Linked DNA regions of Homo sapiens: regions 2, 3 and 4 are each linked to region 1. Evidence: promoter capture Hi-C in 16 types of primary human blood cells and fetal thymus (Javierre and others, 2016). All regions are on one chromosome and are shown on one strand. The core of a region is centred on a gene start or on the middle of the fragment in contact, and the rest is flanking DNA. Distances in the headings are between cores, read along the strand shown.

Region 1 (3,055 bases), core at 556-3,055:
TAGTGGACTTCAATGTAATTGAGTCCATGATCCTTTTGAGAAGGGGCTGAACTGACAAGCCTCCCTGAGACAGGTGCCCCATGGAATGCTAGTGGAGAGAGAAGGAAAGAGAGTGGAATGGGCACTGGGCAGGGGCAGAGGGAGGAGGAGATGAGTTTGGGACCAATGGTGAGCCAGGACAGGAGTCAGATGAGATTGTGCATCTACTGGAAGACAGGCCTGTGAAGCCGGGAATGGGAGCTCCAAGGGAGTCACTTCTTAAGAGTTTCATGACAGGTCGTCGCCTCCATCAGGGTTCTTTGTTTCTTTTCTTTTCCTTTTTTTTTTTTTTTTTTTGAGACGGAGTCTGGCTCTGTTGCCCAGGCTGGAGTGCAGTGGCGCGATCTTGGCTCACTGCAAGCTCCGCCTCCCGGGTTCACGCCATTCTCCTGCCTCAGCCTCCCGAGTAGCTGGGACTACAGGTGCCCGCCACCACTCCCGGCTAATTTTTTGTATTTTAGTAGAGACGGGATTTCACTGTGTTAGCCAGGATGGTCTCGATCTCCTGACCTTGTGATCCGCCCGCCTCGGCCTCCCAAAGTGCTGGGATTACAGGTGTGAGCCTTTGCACCCGGCCGGGTTCTTTGTTTCTTTGAATCAACGTAACCACGACTACAATCACAATAGAGAACTTTTTTGTTTGTTTGTTTGTTCGTTTGTTTGTTTGTTTGAGATGGAGTCTCGCTCTGTCACCCAGGCTGGAGCGCAATGGCGTGATCTCAGCTCACTGCAACCTCCGCCTCCTGTGTTCAAGCTATTCTCCCGCCTCAGCCTCCCGAGTATACTGCTGGGATTACAAGTGCGTGCCACCACGTCCGGCTAATTTTGTATTTTTAGTAGAGATGAGGTTTCACCATGTTGTCCAGGCTGATCTTGAACTCCTGACCTCAGGTGATCCGCCCGCCTCGGCCTCCGAAAGTGCTGGGATTACAGGCGCAAGCCACAGCTCCCGGCCCGATAGACAACGTTTCTACACCCCAGGGCAGAGTTCTTTCATTCCATCTAGCAGTGTCTCATCCCCTTGCCCAGTCGGTTATATAGTTGTAGCCTGCCTGCTGCGCCCACCCCTGCTTTCATCTTTGTGGAGGACGCAGTGTCGCGGTTAAGATCGCTGGTTCTGGAGCCACGTCACCTGGGGTCAACCCAGGCTCTGACCCCTGGTAGCGATGCAGTGGCATCTGGGCGGGTCCTGCAGGCGCTAGCTGTCACTGTCTCTGTTATTCCAGTTTCGCGATCCCGAGTACGGGGAATGGTTTGGCTACCTGAGCCGAGAGGGCAAGGTGGCCCTCTCCATCAAGGGAGGTCCTTTCAAAGGTGAGTGGGGGAGAGGGCGGGGCCGCAGGGGTTGCGCCTCTCGGCTGCCCCCGGCCCTCACTACCTGCCCGCCTCTACCCGCAGGCTGCTTCCACGTGCCGCGGTGCCTAGCCATGTGCGAGGAGATGCTGGGCGCCCTGCTGAGCCGCCCCGCCCCCGCCCCCTCCCCCGCCCCCACCCCCGCCTGCCGAGGCGCGGAATAAAGGCTGAGTCCGCTCCACCTGCGGCTGTGCGCGCGTCTGTGGGCTCGCGGGAGGGGGGCTGTCGCGCCGAGGGAGGGGCCGGCTCCAGCTCCGGGGCAGCGCCCGCCCCGCCCCCAGGCCCGCCCCGCGCTGACCGGCTCCGCGCATTGGCCCGCCCCGTGCGCTGGCCTGTCCCGCGCATTGGCCAAGCGGCCGGGAGGACGGGCCCGGCGGCCGTGCACTTCCGGCCGGTGGCCGGCCCGGCGCGCACCGCCCCTTCCGCCGTCGCCCAGCGAGCCCAGCTCCGGTCCCAGCCCCGGCCGTCCCGGCGTCGCTTCGGAGCGCGGCGGCAGCTGACTGCGCCTTCACGATCCGCTGGGACCCGCGAGCCCCGCCGCCGTTATGAACATCCGCAATGCGAGGGTGAGCGCCCGGGGCGGGAGGCTGTCCGCGCCGCGTGGGCGCCGGGCCGGGTGGCTGCCGCGCATGCTCCCGAGGGCCCCGGCCGAGCCCGGCCCGGTGGCCCTGAGTGTGCCTGCGGCCGCTGGACCTATGGGGCTGGCCCAGCCCGCCGAAGAGGCCGGGGCGCGGGGCCGGGGCTGCGATTCCCTCCTGTTTGCGTGATGTCGGGCCTCCGTTGGGTGGGCTCCGGGGACCTCCGGGGCGCCCACTCCTGTTCCTGTGCTCCGGGCGTTGTGCAAAGTCAGATCGTCACAGTGCCTGCCCAGCCCCGAGGGAGCGGGGCCGAGCAGACCGACGGGGAGCAGGCTTCTCACCCGTGGTCACCGCCGCCTTAGACTGAGCGCGTTCCACTGCCCTCCTTCCCTGCAGCCAGAGGACCTAATGAACATGCAGCACTGCAACCTCCTCTGCCTGCCCGAGAACTACCAGATGAAATACTACTTCTACCATGGCCTTTCCTGGCCCCAGGTGGGCAGCTTCTGAATTTGGGCATGGGGGAAAGCAGGCCGAGGAAAATCCCATCTGGCCATCTTGGAGGGAGTGGACAAGTCTGTCAGAGCCCAGGGGGCTGTATGGTCGGTGGCGTCCTGGGTGTTTTCAGCTGGCAGACAGGGGCAAAGGAAAAGAAGGCGCCCGAAGGGAGCAGAGAATAGGGGCAGGATCCCCACTTTGCGTCTTCTTTCTGGGTATGGGCAGGGCACAGTGTGGCGAGGGGGAGACCAAGCCACTCAGCCCGGAGGTCATGAGCCATCACACAACTCGCCACTCGTCCAGTTTGTGTCCCTCTAAAGGGCTCTTCTAGCTCCGACAAGAAGTTTTCTCACTCTGTTTTCCTGTCACCAGCTCTCTTACATTGCTGAGGACGAGAATGGGAAGATTGTGGGGTATGTCCTGGCCAAAATGTGAGTCACCAAGGAGGAAGACAGAAGCTACACGTGTCTGGTGGATGCCTCTGTGGGCTTTAAAAAAAATGAATAGGCTTCTTCTTTTCAGTACAGTTGAAAGTTTATAGAAAAATTGAACAGAAAGGACATGGAGTTCTTATAGCACCCCTCAGC
Region 2 (3,055 bases), core at 413-2,912, 980 kb after region 1:
GCCTCCGAGAGTGCTGGGATTACAGGTGTAAGCCACCGCGCTTGGCCAATAAAAATAATGTTTAATCTTCAGGGTATATTTTTAGTGAATTATATTAATATATATTCCAAAATTATATGGGGTTTCTAAAATTCTAATATGTATATCAAGTGCAGATTATAAAAATTCAGTCATACAGGATTAATGAAAAGATCACTTAGTGAAGTGAGTAGACTCTTCGTCTAGCTCATTCTTTATTTTATTTAATTTAGGCAGTTTGTTTTATGGGGACCTCAGGTAAACAGCATACTTCAAACTCTGGGTATTATCCTACTGGTAGTCATAGTAGTCTCCCCAGTGCACTGTATTCTCTCAAAGGTTTCAAATGTTTGCATGCAGCCATCTCTGAAATGTCAAATGGTCTCTCTTCAACTGGAATAACAAAACTGATTGAAATGTATGATTATGAGGACATCATAACCTATGAATGACATGCTGAGACTGGAAACCTAAAATGATGGTAACTAGGTAACTAAAAGTGGTGCTAAGGCCCTAAGTTTTGGTCACACTCTCACCTAAGTGAGAACCTGGCCAATAAGGGGAAATATTTTTTTTTTTTTTTTTTAGGTGGAGTCTCGCTCTGTCACCAGGCTGGAGTGCAGTGGCGTGATCTTGGCTCACTGCAACCTCTGACTGCCAGGTTCAAGTGATTCTCTTGCCTCAGCCTCCCGAGTAGCTGGGATTACAGGCGCATGCCACCGCGCCCGGCTAATTTTTGTATTTTTAGTAGAGACAGGGTTTCACCATGTTGGCCATGATGGTCTCGATCTCCTGAGCTCGTGATCTGCCCGCCTCAGCCTCCCTAAGTGCTGGGATTACAGGCATGAGCCACCACGCCCAGCCAAGGGGAATTTTTTAAACAAAATTCTGGCAAGCCATTGTTGTGTACTGAGCTCATGCACTAGGACCCAACAGACCAAACCAAACAAAATGGAGTTGCTCATGCTAAATGTAACATAATCAAACTAAGACTTTAAGGAAACAAATAGTTATTAAAACAGACCAGGTTTTGTTTTTGTCCTGTAAACAGAACATTCTAGCATAAAGAGGTACCTTCTACTCAGTCCTTATTCTCTCCTTACAAAACCCACTGTCCTCCTGTTTCCCAGTGGGTTTCAAGACCATATAAGTACATTTACAAGGGTAATAGTGATATCAATAACTAAGGTTTTTGTCAATCTCTCAAAGTTGAGAAAATGACCAAAAAGGGGGAATTGTTAAAGCAAATTAAATACGGCCTGAGAAGGACTCCATAGTTCTATATTTGAGTCTTTGTCAATAAACTGTAACCTAGAGGCAGACAAAATTGAAAACCTAACTTAGGAGTGTGTACCTGTAACAATAGCTAACTCTTGGCCAATCCCAGCGGCCATACTTCAACCATTCATACACTGGTGAGTGTTCAAACTGTGTTCAAATAAGGCATACCCCCAACCTGTAACCAATCCAGCCGTTCTGTACCTCACTTCCAATTTCTGTACGTCATTTCCCCCCCTCCACCTTTTTTTTAATCTATAAATCTTCCACCATGTAGCTGCACTGGAGTCTCTGTGAATCTGCTGTGATTCTGGGGGCTGCCCGATTCACAAATAGTTCATTGCTCAATGAAACTCCTTTAAATTTAATCCGGCTGAGGTTTTTCTTTTATCACCATGTACCTGCGTCCTGCACCTCACCTCTTACATGTCTCATAGGTGTTACATTTAACATGCCCCCAAACATTTCTTCTACCTCGCTGGTTGAGAGTCTGAGTCAATGAGGTGATAACAGTTTTTTGAGATGAACAACACAGGGGGAGATACAGAATTAGTACATTAGTTAATTTGTTTTATTTGGTTGTTTTTGGTGAGAAGCTGTGTTGATAAAGATGGTTTGGGACATGCTGAGTTTTGGAAGGTGGCAGAAGTCCATAAGGCTACCTCACGGAACTACATATAGGTGAGCCTGCTGCTCCTACCAGTTGTTTCCCCTTGTTTCTCAAGAGTCTTAAGCCAGAAACCCAGAATGGATTATTGCCTGAAGGATGATCAAGTGTTCACAGCTGTCTGCTTTTTACCCTCTCCTTTGCCTTGACAGAATGTTAGGCAGGCTTCTGTCCTCCCCACAGGGCCTGAATTTTGCTTGCTCCTGGTTAAGTAAGTGCTGCAATGCAGAACATGCCCCACTTAGCAGCTTCTCCTGAGAACCGGCTGACCACAGGGAAACACATTTCTGGTCAAATCATGCCAAACAGGTTCCCCTTTGCTTGCCCACTGGCCCTTGAAAGTAGCTGAGCTGCTAGCTGTGCTTACTACTCCCTACTGAAAAAAAAAGGCTTTTTTTTTTTTATTATTTTGTGATGTTTTTTGTATTATTTTGTGATGTTTGCAAGTCCTGAGGTTGCAGCATTGTCCCTATTGCAATAGTCTTTTTAAATAAAGTATTGGTCGGGCACGGTGGCTCACACCTGTAATCCCAGCACTTTGAGAGGCCAAGGCGGGTGAATCACTTGGGGTCAGGAGTTCAAGACCAGCCTGGCCAGCATGGCGAAACCCCATCTCTATTAAAAATTGAAAAATTAGCTGGGCATGGTGGCGCACGCCTGTAATTCCAGCTACTCAGAAGGCTGAGGCGGGAGAATTGCTTAAACCCGGGAGGTGGTGGTTGCAGTGAGCTGAGATGGCACCTACACTCCAGCCTGGGTGACAGAGAAAGGCTCTGTCTCAAAAATAATAAAATAAAATAAAATAAAAGTCTCTATCTAAATCCATATTTGTTTTTTGTTTTTGAGACAGGGTCTCGCTCTGTCACCCAAGCTGGAGTGCAGTGGTGCAATAATAGTTCACTGCAGCCTCAACTCCTGGGCTCAAGCAATCCTCCACTACTTCAGCCTCCCAGGTAGCTGGGACTATAGGCACACACCACCATGCCTGGCTAATTTTTAAAATTTTTATAGATATAGGAGTCTCGCTATGTTACCCAGGCTGGTCTCGAACCCTTGGGCTCAAGTGATCTTCCTCCCTCAGCTTCTCAAGTG
Region 3 (3,055 bases), core at 211-2,710, 540 kb before region 1:
GTCCAAACATGACAAACACTGTTGGAAATTTTATGTCACTTTATTTATTCATTTTTTATTTTTATTATTTTTCTTTTTGAGACAGTCTCCCTCTGTCGCCCAGGCTGGAGTGCAGTGGCGTGATGTCGGCTCACCACAACCTCCACCTCCCGGGTTCAAGTGATTCTTCTGTCCCAGCCTCCCGAATAGCTGGGACTACAGGCGCACACCACGACACGCAGCTAATTTTTGTTATTTTTAGTAGGGCCGGGGGTTTCACCATGTTGGCCAGGATGGTGTTGAACTCCTGACTTCAAGTGATCCACCCGCCTCGGCCTCCCAAAGTACTGGGATTATAGGCGTGAGCCACCGTGCCCGGACTGATGTCACTTTAAATACTTTTTTTTTTATTGTAAATGTCATAAAAGACCACTTCGGAAAAATTGGAGGGAAAACACAAAAAGGAAATTAAAGTCACCCACCATACTATTAGCAGAGATCATGAGGATTTACCTGACGCTGTATTGTTCTAGGATTTCTCTACATATGTACAGTAAGAGACTAAGTTGGCATTTTCTTTTATTTTTTGAGGCGGGGTCTGGCTCTATCAACCAGGCTGGAGTGCGGTGGGGCGATCACGGCTAACTGCAGCCTCTGCCTCCCGGGCTCAGGCTGTCCTCCCATCTCAGCCTCCCTAGTAGCTGGGACCACAGGTGTGCACCATCACACCCAGCTAATTTTTGTATTTTTTGTAGAGGCAGGGTTTCACTATGTTGCCCAGGCTGGTGTCGAACTCCCGGGCTCAAGCAATCAACCCTCCTCAGCCTCCAAGAAGCTATGACTACAGGCACGCTCCACCACTCCCAGCTAACTTTTAAAATTTATTTTTGTATTTTTTGTAGAGACGGGGTCTCACTATGTTGCCTGTGTTTGTCTTGAACTCCTGGGCTCAAGTGATCCTCCTCCCTTGGCCTTCCAAAGTGCTGGGATTCCAAGCGGGGGCCACTTTGCCTGGCCTAAACTGGCATTTTCATACTCATAGTTGTGCAGTCTGATTTTTCACGTTATATTAGACCTAGACCCACCGCCAGTACTTTCATTCAAGGCCCTGTCATTTTTCGCCTCCGTGCAGGCCTCCTGCTGACAGGCTCCCCCGCTCTGCACAGCCCACCCGCTCTAAAATGCTTCCTCTAAAATGCACATCCGATGCTTCACAGTCCATGGTGAAGCCCCGTTGGTTGGGCACTGGGGTTGAGGGCAAGAGCAGTATCCTTGGGGGTTACCCGACCCGGCCACCCTCCCTCTGCGAATCGCAACATGGACGTTGTGCCACATCTCCTGGGGCTCTTGGGTCCAGGTAAGAAACGGGGCGGGAAGCCGTCCAGGCACCGCAGGGCCTCACTGGGGCCTCCAGGGACAAGGGGGAAGGCCCCGCCAGCGCAGGCGCGCTAAGGTCACAAGGCGCGCTTAGGGGCGGAGCCTCGCGGGGTGCGCCTCTGGGATAGGCGACCACGGTGTCTTCAAAAGCCCCGTCAGGGTTGGCTTCCTGGGGCCGGACCGACTGTGGGTCAGTTTGCACCAGCGCTCTGGAATCGAGTTACGCGCGAAAGGGCAGAGTTTCTGGAGGAAACCGCAGCCTCTCAACCGCTGACCGGGTCTCAGAAGGCCCCCGGCAGGGCCGCTTGGCGGGAACTGACCACGCGCCAGTCAGGCTCTCCAGGGACCTGCGCAGGCGCGTGTGGGCGGAGTCGTGCGCAGGGGGCGGGGCTTCGGGAAGGAGCCACAGAGAGGGCGGGGCGTAGGACCTGCGCTTCGGGGGTGGAGTCGGAGCGGCGCGGCGGCGGTCATGCGGGACGCGGATGCAGACGCAGGCGGAGGCGCTGACGGCGGGGATGGCCGGGGTGGCCACAGCTGCCGCGGGGGCGTGGACACAGCCGCAGCTCCGGCCGGTGGAGCTCCCCCAGCGCACGCGCCAGGTCCGGGCAGAGACGCCGCGTCTGCGGCCAGGGGGTCACGAATGCGGCCGCACATATTGTATCCTTTCCGAGCTGGGGGCTGCTTGCGGCGGAGCGAGGGCTGGACTCGGGGAGAAGGAAAGGAGGGCGGGCGGGGGGCCGACGGAAAGGGTAGCAGGGGGGGACCGGGGCTGGCGTATACGGTCAGAGGTGGTCGGAGGAGGGGAAGACATTGAAATGGAGGGAGAAGCTCTGCTAACGGTGGCCTGGGCGAGGTAAGGAGTGAAGGGGGTGACACTAGGCAGGGTGACCTGAGAGGGGGCTTCAGAGGAGCAAGAAGGCCTGAGACATAGGCAAGATCGTATCAGATGGCACCTTAACCGAATGACCCCCAGCACCCTCAGCGTGCCTTTCCCGACCCCCTTGGAGGCGGAAATCGCCCATGGGTCCCTGGCACCAGATGCCGAGCCCCACCAAAGGGTGGTTGGGAAGGATCTCACAGTGAGTGGCAGGATCCTGGTCGTGTAAGTTCTGAAAGGGACGGGGTTGGGGGAGGCGGCCCATGGAGACATGGGGGACATCCAAGGATGAGCCCTAAGGAGCGCCAGGTGCGCTGGGCCGGTCTCTGCCTGAGGGGCTGTGTAATGGCAGGGCTCCCAAGGGTTTGCTATATTGGGTGCCTGAGGGGCAGAGCGAGGGACCAGGAGTTGCCACCTCCAATTTGATTTTCTTTTCCCCTCACTTTTAGCCGCTGGAAAGCTGAAGACTGTCGCCTGCTCCGAATTTCCGTCATCAACTTTCTTGACCAGCTTTCCCTGGTGGTGCGGACCATGCAGCGCTTTGGGCCCCCCGTTTCCCGCTAAGCCTGGCCTGGGCAAATGGAGCGAGGTCCCACTTTGCGTCTCCTTGTAGGCAGTGCGTCCATCCTTCCCTAGGGCAGGAATTCCCACAGTTGCTACTTTCCTGGGAGGGCCTCATGTTTTATCTGGTTCTTAAATGTTTGTTACTACAGAAAATAAAACTGCGCTACTATTCCAAGTCTGAGTTTATTTGCAGCTGGGGCACCTCCCAATATTCTTGTTGTGCTTGGGTTGCTGGGGGGGGGGTTCTAGAATTCAGAT
Region 4 (3,055 bases), core at 297-2,796, 510 kb before region 1:
CAGTTCCTTCCCACGGAACCTGAGGGAGGCTGGGCCCATGGTGAGCAGGAAGCAGGCTGCACGCTGCCTACCTTGACTGTCCGCCGGTGCCCAGAGCCATCCCAGTAGCTGAAGGTGATCTCGATCTCCTCACCTACAAGGCAGAGCTGCCTCTTGGTCTCCAGCCCCACTGAGAGCAGCCTTGGGGCTCAGCGCACCACCCAGGAGACTGTGGACAGGGAAGCTGGCTTGGGCCCAGGCCCCTCGCGTCTGACTCCGCAAACACTCACTCTTGATCTTCTCCTGCTTGGCTTCCCACTCCTGCCGCAGCTCTTCCCGAAGCCGATTCTCCTCCTCCTGGGAGAGGGAGCAGGCAGACAGGTGAGGCCCAGGGCTGCTCAGGGTGCACGCAGAGCCTGGCTCCCTAAGCAAGGGTCTCCACCAGGGCTGGAGTCGAGGCCGGGGTCAGGGCCAGGCAGCCTTTACCTCACGGTCTCGATCAGGCAAGAAGCTTGTGTCAACGTCTGGGTTCTTCCCCAGTTTTCTCTTCTTCGTGGTGATCTCTGGAACAAAAGGAAGCCGAATATCATAGCATTATTATAAAAATGATTTTGATATGGCCGACGCCCAGGGTCCCCCAAGCATACCTTGAGAACAGTCGATCTAGAAGACAAGCCTAGGGCGGGCACAGAGGCTCACGCTTGTCAACCCAACACTTGGGGAGGATGAGGCAGAAGGATCACTTGAGCCCAGGAGGTGGAGACCAGCATGGGCAACATAGCAAGACCTCGTCTCTACTAAAACTCAAAAAAATCAGCCGGGTGTGGTGGCGCACCTGTAGTACCAGCTACTCAGAAGGCTGAGGTGGGAGGATCGCTTGAGCCTGCGAGGTCGGGGCTGCAGTGAGCCGTGATCAAACCACTGCACTCTAGCCTGGGCAACAGAGTGAGACCTCATCTCAAAAAAAAAAAAAAGAAAGAAAAAAAAGAAAAGAACAACAAAAAAAGACAAATCTAAACTCTTTAGCCTGATGCTCAAGGGCAGAGATTCTAGAGCCTGGGGTCTTGTGGCTGGGCCCCCTAAACGGAACCTGTGGAGGGAGGGAAGAGCCCACCAAGCAGTGTTTTGTAAAAGCCCCAGTGACACACAGTGAGGGTGACAACCTTTCCCCCAGGCCTGCACTGTCCACGCCAGTAGCTCCCAAGTTCGAGACCAGCTTGGGCAACATGGCGAGATTCCGTCTCTACAAAAAATACAAAAATACAAAGCGCCTGTAGTCCCAGCTACTCAAGTGGCTGAGGTGGGAGGGTCCCTTGAGTCCAGGAGGTCAAGGCTGAAGTAAGCTGTGATCGCCCCTCTGCACTCCAGCCTGGGCCACAGGGAGACACTGTCTCAAAAACAACAACAACCAAAACAAAAACACAAACACAAACCAGTAGCTCCCGCTGCACACAGCACCCCAGCATTGCAGCTAGTGCGCCTGCCGCAATGGTGATATTTTGGATACGCTGGGTTAAATACAATGTCATACTAAAATCCTGCTTGTTTCTTTTTCTATGTTTTACTGTGGCTGCTGGAACATGGAACCCAAATGGCAGGTGGCTGGCAGGTTCTTCCTCCCTACAATCCTGCACTCCCCTCAAAGCCATGGCACCCAGCCTGTTACCACAGCCACACAGCACCATCCCCTGCCTCGCTTCTCTCCCTCTGCCATTCCCTGGGTGACACAATTTCCAGAACTGCCACCACACCCTCCAGGGGCCCGTGACACAACTTGCTCCCAATCTTCAAACGTTTTGAAAAGCTCTTTCCTGCTGGGCTTCTGGCATGTACTTTCTCGTCGCCCCTCCTGCCTCTCTGGCGAATGCAACTCCCCTCATCCTTAGGGCCTAACTCAACCCTCCCCTCCTTCCTTGACCCCTGGGTTAGCCCGGTGGGCCCCAAGCAGAGCAGTAACCCTGAGTAGTGTCTTCAGTGCATGGTGACCCGTGACTTCCACCAGGAGAGGGACAGCACCCTATGTGCCCTGGCCAGGCACAGCACAGGTGTGTGGCACACGTGGAGGCCAGGCTGGCTTTACCCTCACTCCCCAGCCATCCTGAGCTTTCCCTGACAGCCCCTTGTTCTCACAGCTGAGACCTGCAGTGTCTGACTAGTAGCCTCGGAATTTCTGTGGCTGTATACATTTACGCTGAAACAAATCAAACAGAATTCACCATTTAGTGCCCCAGTCATACGAGGCACCTGGGGCAAGTGGCTACCATATTGGGTGGCACAGACTCTAACATTTCCATCATCACAGAAAATGTGCCCAGCCAGCCTGGTCTAGACCAGCCTCTTCCCTCCCCGGTCTACTGTGCGCGGTGCCTCAAGAGGGCAGCTTTTGGAGCCATCTTGACAGGGCATCAGCTTTGCTGACAGCCTCTCACATTGGGGACCCCTCCCCAGGGGCTGCGGGCGGGGCTCCGACTCAAGCCAGCCCTCACCTTCCCTTTCCATCTCCTCCTCATACATGGCCGCCTCCTCTTCCTCCTCGCCTCCCTCTTCTTCCTCCTCCAGGGTGAAGGACAGGCTGGAGATCTTCCGCTTGGCTTCCTTCTTACGCTCCTTCTCTCGAAGCTTCTCCAGCTTCCTAGTGAGGTGCAGGTGGCCCCATCACACATCATGTCCTTCCCGACCCTGACCCAGCCCCTTCCTTGACCCAGAGCCACCTGTGTGCCCTATGTGGGGCCTGCCCAGCCCAGGCTGGGTCCCCATTGCCCCAGACGGGTCCTGCTGTCCTGGATCACTTTGAGCTCATGGGCGAGGGCTCTGTTACAAACAGCAAGCACAGAGGGCCACAGGGGAGAGCCAAGCACAGGCTGGCAATGGGGAGAACGCAGGCTGCTCAGGCACCGGATGCTGGGAAAGGGCCCACTGCATTTAGAGGGTCAGAAAGAAGACAAGCCGCCATGGTGAAAAGACGTGAGCGTGGACCCGAGGAGGCGGGAGAGAGAAATGCAAATCGCAAGCTAGATGCTACCCCTGTCCCAAAGCTGGAGACAGGGTCCCCCCCAGGGTGCAAAAAGAGCCCGAC

The links. The method cuts DNA at HindIII sites, captures the fragments that hold promoters and counts their contacts. A CHiCAGO score of 5 or more calls a contact.
Region 2: a contact is called between a fragment that was not itself captured here and the fragment with the promoter of NAA10 in region 1, in 5 of 17 cell types (non-activated CD4 T cells, naive B cells, naive CD4 T cells and 2 more). The highest score is 8.5, in non-activated CD4 T cells.
Region 3: the fragment with the promoter of LAGE3 here is called in contact with the fragment with the promoter of NAA10 in region 1 in 4 of 17 cell types (monocytes, neutrophils, total CD8 T cells and 1 more); the score reaches 8.2 in monocytes.
Region 4: a contact is called between a fragment that was not itself captured here and the fragment with the promoter of NAA10 in region 1, in 1 of 17 cell types (non-activated CD4 T cells). The highest score is 6.5, in non-activated CD4 T cells.

Annotation. Positions count from the first base shown.
Region 1 is chrX:153,933,787-153,936,841 of GRCh38, reverse strand. It overlaps NAA10 (N-alpha-acetyltransferase 10, NatA catalytic subunit), which reads left to right and starts at 1,805. Exons shown (of 8, transcript NM_003491.4): 1 at 1,805-1,958; 2 at 2,367-2,465; 3 at 2,841-2,899. The coding sequence starts at 1,938. RENBP (renin binding protein) reads left to right here. Exons shown (of 11, transcript NM_002910.6): 10 at 1,266-1,353; 11 at 1,438-1,573. The coding sequence ends at 1,556. RefSeq lists enhancers at 535-1,039, 1,040-1,545 and a silencer at 1,536-2,115. The HindIII fragment of the contact is 15,713 bases long and covers 1-3,055 here.
Region 2 is chrX:152,953,449-152,956,503 of GRCh38, reverse strand. The region is part of intron 18 of ZNF185 (zinc finger protein 185 with LIM domain); the gene reads right to left. Among named protein-coding and RNA genes, the nearest start is that of PNMA5, 39 kb to the left of the region's middle. The HindIII fragment of the contact is 5,746 bases long and covers 1-3,055 here.
Region 3 is chrX:154,477,686-154,480,740 of GRCh38, reverse strand. LAGE3 (L antigen family member 3) reads left to right here and starts at 1,460. Exons shown (of 3, transcript NM_006014.5): 1 at 1,460-2,013; 2 at 2,330-2,458; 3 at 2,683-2,966. The coding sequence starts at 1,826. The coding sequence ends at 2,797. It overlaps PLXNA3 (plexin A3), which reads right to left. Exons shown (of 33, transcript NM_017514.5): 33 at 2,962-3,055. RefSeq lists an enhancer at 1,086-1,585 and a silencer at 1,847-2,066. The HindIII fragment of the contact is 14,076 bases long and covers 1-3,055 here.
Region 4 is chrX:154,445,971-154,449,025 of GRCh38, reverse strand. FAM50A (family with sequence similarity 50 member A) reads right to left here. Exons shown (of 13, transcript NM_004699.4): 4 at 2,466-2,611; 5 at 466-542; 6 at 270-336; 7 at 72-133. Among named protein-coding and RNA genes, the nearest start is that of MIR6858, 2.8 kb to the left of the region's middle. The HindIII fragment of the contact is 2,108 bases long and covers 493-2,600 here.